2 separate regions of the Homo sapiens genome follow, and region 2 is linked to region 1. Evidence: promoter capture Hi-C in human tissues and cell types (Jung and others, 2019). All regions are on one chromosome and are shown on one strand. Each heading gives the region's core, a stretch centred on a gene start or on the middle of the fragment in contact. The rest is flanking DNA. Distances are from core to core; before and after follow the strand shown. Region 1 holds the start of SYNE1 (spectrin repeat containing nuclear envelope protein 1). Region 2 overlaps MYCT1 (MYC target 1).

Evidence for each region. Contacts are between HindIII fragments. The study calls those that stand out against the background at their distance.
Region 2: a fragment that was not itself captured here is called in contact with the fragment with the promoter of SYNE1 in region 1 in 2 of the 25 tissues and cell types used here (liver and mesendoderm cells).

Annotation. Positions count from the first base shown.
Region 1 is chr6:152,635,154-152,639,478 of GRCh38, reverse strand. SYNE1 (spectrin repeat containing nuclear envelope protein 1) reads left to right here and starts at 2,117. Exons shown (of 146, transcript NM_182961.4): 1 at 2,117-2,290; 2 at 2,674-2,841. The HindIII fragment of the contact is 20,643 bases long and covers 1-4,325 here.
Region 2 is chr6:152,712,605-152,716,929 of GRCh38, reverse strand. All of the region lies in intron 1 of MYCT1 (MYC target 1), which reads right to left. Among named protein-coding and RNA genes, the nearest start is that of MYCT1, 17 kb to the right of the region's middle. The HindIII fragment of the contact is 4,742 bases long and covers 1-4,325 here.

The DNA.
Region 1 (4,325 bases), core at 868-3,367:
CCTGTCCTCAAGTGATCTGTCTGCCTTGGCCTCCCAAAATGCTGGGATTACAGGTGTGAGCCACCATGCCTGGCCAACTCCCGTTCTTGAAAGCTCTCATAGCAACATTTGCCTTTGCTTGGAGAATGGGGTTTTATAAGTATTTGTGTGGTTCTCTGATGAATGTCTGGCTCTTCCCCCATCATACTGTAAGCTCCATGAAGGCAAGAGCCCGGTCAGAGTTTGCTTACCACGGTAGCCCCAGCACTTAGGACAATATTTGTTATGTGGTAAGTGTTCAAGCAATAGCTGTTGAGTAAATGGAGCTACAACACCCTTCCCTGGGGTGTGTGAAACTGACAAGCCCTTTGCAAAACTCTAAAATGTGCTTAGTCCTTCTACAGAGGATAAAGTTTAGCTGAGAATGGGATTTCAGCTGTATAGGGAATCAATGCCAGCAAGACAGCTCTATGCTTCTGTCTGTCTCAGCCTGTGAGAACAGAGATTAGGCCTAGTAGAGGAGTTTTAGTTGGTGGAAGCAATGTTTCAGGCTTGTGTTTTAAGTGGCTCACTTCTCAAGTAAGTAAACCCAAGAAAGTAGTTGCTTAACGTGTAGAATAGCAAGTTGGTGGCCAGGTGCAGTGGCTCACACCTGTAATCCCAGCACTTTGGGAGGCCGAGCTGGATGGGTCACCTGAGGTCGGAAGTTTGAGACCAGCCTGACCAACATGAAGGAACCCTGTCTCTACTAAAAATACAAAATTAGCCAGGTGTGGTGACGCATCCCTGTAATCTCAGCTACTCAGGAGGCTGAGGCAGGATAATTGCTTGAACCTGGGAGGCGGAGGTTGCAGTGAGCCGAGATTGCACCATTGCACCCCAGCCTGGGGAACAAGAGCGAAACTCCATCTCAAACAAACAAACAAACAAAAAGAATGGCAAAGTTGGCACAATAACTTTCTACCCATCTTCAAAAGCCGGCAGGGTGGATTGATTCTATGAAGGTAGGGATTGAGAGGGTGAGCTGAGCCATTCTGATCTGTTTCTTCTGAGTGGCAAGCCTGGAAATCTGGACCCCATTTTGTGGCCACTGGGCACAGAGGGCTGACCTGGAATAATTATGCTCTGGTGGTTGTCTCCACAAGGGGCTCTGGGGGTGCCCCAGGATTGTTGCCCTCAGGCAGAGGCAGGGCATACATTGAGAGTGATCCCAAACACTCCTCCTCCAGGCCCAACTTTTGGAGGTAGCAAGTTCTGCAAATAGAGATCCATTGTTTGGTTTCTCTCTCTAAAAAAAAACAAAAGTCAGCACAAAGAAGAGGAACACATCAGATTGGTTTACCAGATTTGTTTCAGATGTTATTATTTTGACACGATCCAGAAGAAGGAGAATTTGAAGAAAATGGAAAGCTAGGCAGTGGGAATGTTGGCAGCAGGTAAGGGAAAGGCAGGCAGCAAAGAGAAACTTCATCTACTTTATAAACTGCTCCTTCCTTTCAGCAAATTTAGAGGATAAATGACTGTTTTGTTCAGATTGGAGATTCAAGGGGGGGATTATTACTTTTAAGATTATTGCAACATGGCTTCGATTATTTTAGCTGCAATCATCCTGTTGGACTTGGACTTCACTGTTGGTGAAGAGAGACTGTGTTTGACTTTGCCTGGATACCATAAAACCACAACAAAATAAATTCTCCTGAATGCTACCAGGCAACACCAAGATCTCTTACACCACGAGAAGGACTTGTGGCCAAAGATACAAATGGCTCCGCAATGTACAGGGTGCATACAGTGCACCTGAAGAACCTAAAAGTGGTTTTTAGAATCATCATAATAAACAGTCAAGAATTAAAGATGTCAAGCGCTTTCTCAAGAAGTCTAAACTTTATACATAACATTAAAAAAGATCTATAAAGCCTGACCAGTCTCCCTCAAATTAAGTTATTTGCTACTGACTTGGCAGCCAAAACGATTTAGGATCTTTCGGAAGTTGATGAAAAAGGAGCCAGCGGGTTTTGCTCTTTGCTCTGCATCACGCCCTTCCTGGGACCATCAGGGAACCTCCCAGCCTTTCAGGATAGGTTCCGCTCAGAAAGGTCACCCGGGCAGTGGAAACCGTGGGCAAAAGTTAGCTGGCAGGACAGCGCAGCTCCTCCAGGCAGCGGAGGCAGCGCGTCCCGGCTCTCAGGGACATTTCCTTCCCACCTCGACCCCCGGGAGGTGGTCCCGGTATAAAGGCTCGCTGAGCGGGTGGGTCACAGCACAGCTTTGCAGCTGCGGAGAAACGCCCAAGGCCGTGCATCTCCAGGAGGTAGGGAAGCCTGCGAGCCTCCGGGTCCCCGCCCCCAGCTCTTCCAGGCACCGGCGCATCCCGGAGCCGGGCGCGGGGCGCGGGGCACGGAGCCGGGGAGGGGGTGTGGCGGGCCAGGGCGGTGCAGGGACCCTGCCCAGAGGCTGAACCGGCCTGGGCGACCTTCCTTCCCGACAGGAGCAGTAGATGCGTGGGGGAGGGCGAAGGGGGAGGCCTCACCCCCCAGCGAGCAGCCGGGAGGAGGAACCGGTCGCGGAGGGCGGGGAGCGCGGCTGAGCAGCCCGGCGCGGGAGTGAGTGTGGGCGAGCCAGCCAGGGTGAGCGCGGGCGCCGGGCCGCGGCCGCCGGCCGCAGCGGGCTGAGATTGTTGTCCTCTGTCACCAGGGCGGCTGGGCTCCCGCAGTCCTGCAGACCGCGCCCGATCCCGGCGACAGGGCGGGCGGACAGCCGCGCATCCCCGGGGTCCCGCCGAGCCTGGGCGCAGAGAGCCGGGAGGAAGCGTTCGCTCGCTTCGCCTTGCTGCTGGGAAACTGAACGAGGCCGAGAGAGAAGGTAAAAGGAAAGACAGAGACTGGGAGACAGGGAGAGACAGAGACAGGGAGAGGAGAGAGAGGTGCAAGACGAACACATTGCAGACAAATTGTCAGCAAGTTTGTGCCTGCACGCTGGGGCTCTGCGTGCTTGATGGGAGGGGGTGGTGGCAGTGATGTGTGTACGTGTGCGATACTCATAGATAAGGAGACTAGGAGGTTGGGGAGCCTCTTTGCATCTCGTACGTAGATGTCCCTATTAATATCCCCCTCTCTGAGTTGTCATTTCCGCTTGTGGCACATCTCCTGGGCTCCAATGGTGCAGAAGCAAAAGGCAGCCAGCCTCTTATTGTGATGGTCGGTACTGTTGCTACTATCAGATGGGAGAGGTAGGGCGTTGAACAGATTCTAGGAGCCTCCCTTCCTCCACCCCCTGACTATTTTAGGAAGGGCTGGGGGAGGGAAATGGCTTGAAGGCTGCGCGGAGGCCCTGGCGCGTCAGACTCCAGCGGCGCTGTCATGGTGCAGTTGCTTCCCGGCAGAGCCTGCACTAGAGGGCAAGAGAACTTTCGTCTCCTCTTTATAAAGATACGTTTCACATAGAGAGATCTTGCATTGCTGGCGGAGGAGTTCTGGGAAATGGTGGTGCACAGGCGGCCAGGTGCATCCCAACGGGCAGGCATCCGTGCAAAACGAAGCAGCCATCAGCCGCACAGGAAGAAGCCCCTTGGGAAGGCAGGCTGGGTGTGCTGACTGGGATCCCAGACTTTGGATGCTGGAAGTTCTGCCCCCTTCCGTAAATAGAGTCAGGTCCAGCCCAGAGGGAAATATCAGCAATGAAGCCTTAGCATCCCACAATGTTCATTTCTGAGCTTTTCGTTTTGGGGTGGAAAACTTGTATCTGAAATGTTCCTGTGAATGTTAAGAAAGTTAAAAATGAATTATTTTTCTCTTCTTTAATGCCCATCCATTTTTTGTCTTCATCTGAGAATGACTTTCCTAAAGACAACATTCGTATACAGAAGCCAGACCTATGCAAGAGAAAGTATAATAATTTTCAATGAGGCAAAGGTCATTAATATGACCTACATCTTCATAAAATGCGAATTTAATCACGAGTCATGACGATTGTTCTTTGAGAGGCTTTTTATTCCCCATGGTGAAAAAAGATTTGTAGTATGGCTAAAAAGTTCCTGATATCACCGGAACAGTGTGACAAAATACATATCTATTTTTTCTTTTCTGTTCATTACTTTGTGGCAGATTTAGAACAAAATGTGAGAGATCTATACTAACTTAATATGTTTCATGCTGAAGATTAAGAAACAGCTTCAGACTGACCCAGATAACAATATTTGCTAGGCTTTGGAAATATTTGCCTAGCTCTTATTTTATAGTCTCACTTTCATCTTTCTGAACTAATGATTTTCACAAACTGGTTTTCTTCTGTCCTCATTGACCTCATTTAAGAACTCTTTTTTACTTGAGTCCTTCCTGCCAGGGAGA
Region 2 (4,325 bases), core at 756-3,255, 78 kb before region 1:
AACAATCTAAGGAGAAGAAAAATGAGCCATAATCTTTCTTCTTAATAATTGCAATATAATGCAACTTATGAGACCAAATGATTACTTTTAAAAATGTTAACTTTCCTTTTGAAAGCAGAAGGAAAAAACTCTAACATTGGTCAGCTATGCCATATAAATTAAATATATGTCATCCTAATTTGTAATACGTACCTACAAAACTAGCAAGTAGATGGCACATAACAAGCCCTCAACGAACACTGGCTCTTACTGCTAATAGTTGTGTAATTTCCTCAAGTCATTTGACCCTTCTTGGCCTGATAATAACAGCCACGTTCGTGTCTTCCAATTTTAATATTGTAATATTGAATATGATTTTTAGTAAATATAATCAATACCTCAAATTCCATCCACTGGTATTAAAATTTAGTAGAGGTCACCATCTAGTGGCCTTGAGTTGAAGCATTCCAACTCTGAAAGTGATTTATCAGTGATGGCAGAATGTAACATTGTTTAAAACATTCAAAAACCCTTTGCAGTTGTTAAGAATCATAAGTTCAATGTTCACCAAAGCAGGCCATGAAGTCCTTGGTATCATAGAGTGTATAGGAGAATGGTTCAGGCAATAGAACTACTTTTGACGAAAAGGGCTTTTAGGGAGAATAATATTTAGGGCATAGAAATTTGATTGATTATAATAATTTAAACAGCCGAGGAGTATTTTCCATTATATCTCATGTGCCAGAACATCTTATTGGGTCTGTTTTCACAAACAAAAAGAAATCCAGAATTCAACTTCTCACTACCCACTCTGCGACTTCACTGATCCAAGTGGCCACATTCCCACATCTGTGACCTGGAATATGGTCTTCCTGCTTCTGTCCTTGCCATATCCCTCACACCCCAACAATGTGCTCAATGCAGTAGTCAGAGAGAACATTATAAAATGTAAGTCAAATCATATCAATCTTCTGTTCTAAATCCTCCACTTCTCCCAGAGTAAAAACAAATGCCTAAGAATATCCTAAAAGTCCCTACTTGATAGGCTCCCAATTATCTGAGCCCATCTCCTCTACTCTTCCTTTGGGTCACTGAGCTCTGTCTGCACTTCCCCCCTCACCATTCCTTAAGTACATCAGATGGGCTGGCTCCTGACTTAGGGCCCATCCCTGGTTGTAATCTATTCCTAAAATTATTTCCTCAGCTATCTGTATGGTTAATTTCAGGTCTTTTGCTTATATGTAAGTTTCTCATTGAGGTCTACCCTGGCTGCTCCACCTAAAATGACACCCTGTCCCACCTCTGAAGCCTAAATGGAATTCTTGTTTTTCTTTTTTCCTTCCTGGTTAATGGAAACTACATTCATTAATTTATACTCTAAGAAAATGTGAATGAGACGCATAACCATTATGAGCTGAAAATGTCATTATGTTTGAAAGATAGGAGGATAACATATATCTGGAAGGTTTAAAAAAGCTTCATGGAAAAAATAAATTGTAGATGCCTTTTTGTGAATGGTAGTGGTCAAATAAACAAAAGGCTTGGAGATTTGAAAGTAGTTTTGATCAAAATTATAAAGCACAAGCCATATTCTGAATATAATTAGTTAACAGTATTGCTAGAGGTGAGGGCAAATTCAAAAGTATCAAGGTAGCACACCCCTTTCTGTATATGATAGACTAACATGTATCAAACCAATGAGAGCAAGCGTACAATGGAGAATAAAATATTTTCTTAAATTTGTTTGAAGCCATCAGAGACTTATCAAAACTATTAAATCAAAGGAGCAAATTCCAGGAGAAAAGAAAATCTTTCATCACAATAATCTGTAAAAAGAAACAAAAATATCTGAGTAGAATGCTGTGCACTATAAGTAAGCTTAGAAAACATAAGTTGGTGTTCAGGGGCTGCCAAGGAAGTTGGACCCTAGGAAACATCCCAGAATCTGGAATTAGGCCCCCTAGGATCTACTCCCTAAGCTTAATGGTAAACAGGAGAAAGACCAGACCTCACAAAGATAAAAATATAGATCAATCCCAAGTTGGACTGAGGTGATCTTCCCCTAACTGCCAGAAGGAAAGTTTTATACATATATATGAAATAGAAAGTTATATACTTAAATAAATTTATATATACCTAATAATGTTATATATATATGTGTTATAAATAATAAATTACAAGTCATCCTAAGAGGCAAGACAAAGTAAACAAAAACTAAAAGAACAAATAGAAAATGGAAAAATATCTGTAAGTTATGAAAATATTTGAATTATCAGACAAAAATATTAAAATAACTTGATTAATGTGTTTAAAAAATTAACAAGTTAAAAATTTTCAGCAGAGATTGAGGATCTATAAAGAAAATTAAATAAAATACCTAATGAAAATTATAAAATATTTTAACTGAATTCTGATAAAATTGTGAAATATCGAAACATGTGAGATGTGCCTAAAGCCACATTCATAAGAACATTTATAGCTTTATAGGTATACATTTTAAAATAAGAAAGCCTACAAAAACAATTATTTCAGTTTCCATATTAAGAAGCTAGGAAAAGATCACTAGCTGAAACATAAGTAAAGTAGCATACAGTAAATAAGAGAAAGCAGAACTTAATGAAACAGGGGCAAAAAAAAAAAAAAAAGAAAAAGAAAAAATAGAGGAAATTATCAAAGCCAGATATGAAAAAAATCTAATAAAAATGAATAAAATACTAATTGGAACGACAAGGATGGAAAGAGGAGAGAAAGAGAAAGAGGGAAAAAGAGTGGGCAGGAGCAAGAGAAAGAGACAGAGAGAAAGAGAAAATCACCAATATCAAGAGTAAGAAATGTGACATTAGAACAGATACAGGCAATAAAAACATCAAGCTAGGATTCCAAATCAGCTTTTATGAACTGACCCTTTCAAGTAATAATGACTATGAACACTGAAAACAATATAAAAAAAAATTCTACCTAAAGGCCTTAAGAATGACCAAATGCTTGTAGCTACTGGAGAGGAGTTGAGACCTGGAAGAAAAGAACAGCAAGTACTAGTCAAGCTCCAGTTTTCAAACCTTTTAACCTGAGGGAAGCTTCCAGTCTGGGACAGGTAAAGCTACAGTCGAAAACCTGCACTGTTTCTGATCTTGAGAAACAAAGGACAGAGATTGTGGAAACAAGAGCTGCTGAGAATGTGAGAGGGAAATCCTGGAGAAGAGAAAGCCAGAGAGGAGAATCCCCAAATTTTATTTATAAACATTTCACATATCTTTGGTTGACTCCTGAATCACACATACGTGGGATGTATTCCAAACAGCACTAGAGAAAAAAAAATAAACTAAAGTGAGATTTAAGCTGCTGCCCAAGGGACAGGCTTTATAGGTTTCTGTAGTTGTAGTTCCACAGAGTTATTTGCCTGTGAAAATAAACTAGGGGGAAAACATACATCATAACACTCTTCAGGGTAATATAGCAGAATCCATTCAAAATGTTCAAGATACAATATGAAATTACTGGGCACATGAAGAAACAGGAAAATGTGATCCATTCTTAAGAGAAAAGACAGTCAACAAAAACAAACTTTAAGATGATCCAGACATAATTAGCAGACAAAAATTTTAAAGCAACTCATATGTCCATATTCAATGATTTCAAGTAAAACACTCACAATGAATAAAATGATAGGAAATTTCAGCAAAGAAATAGAAACTATAAGAAATAACAAAATGGATATTCTAAAACTAAAAAAATGAGAACTAAAAAATTTATACCATGAGCTTAACAGTGAAATTAAAATGAGAGAGAAAAGAATCGGCCAACTTAAAGGTGTATTAATAGAACTTATCCAATTTGAAAAATGGAGAAAAATATTGGGGGGAAAAAGCAAGCCTCTAGGCCTTGTGGAACTATATAAAAATATTTAACAAATGTGCAATTATAATCCCCCAAACAGAGGAAAGGGTGGATGGAGCTAAAAACATTTTGAATAAATGAGGCTGAAATTTTTCAAAATTAGTGAAACAAATTAATCTACAAATCAAGAGTCTCAGTAACATCAAGCAGAATATATATAAAGAACTATGCACGTCATAGTCAAACAGCTGAAGATCAAAGGTTAACAAAAAAAACTTGAACACAGCCAAATTACAAATAATAATAACATTACATTCATAAAAGACAATTATTTAAATACTCACTTTTAATAAGACACGGTGATATTTTAAAGTGATTTTAAAAAAGCTGTCAACTCAGAATTTTATATCCAGCAAAAGTATCCCTTAAGTATAGTAGTGAAATAAATACTCTTTCAGGGGGAGGAGCCAAGATGGCCGAATAGGAACAGCTCCGGTCTACAGCTCCCA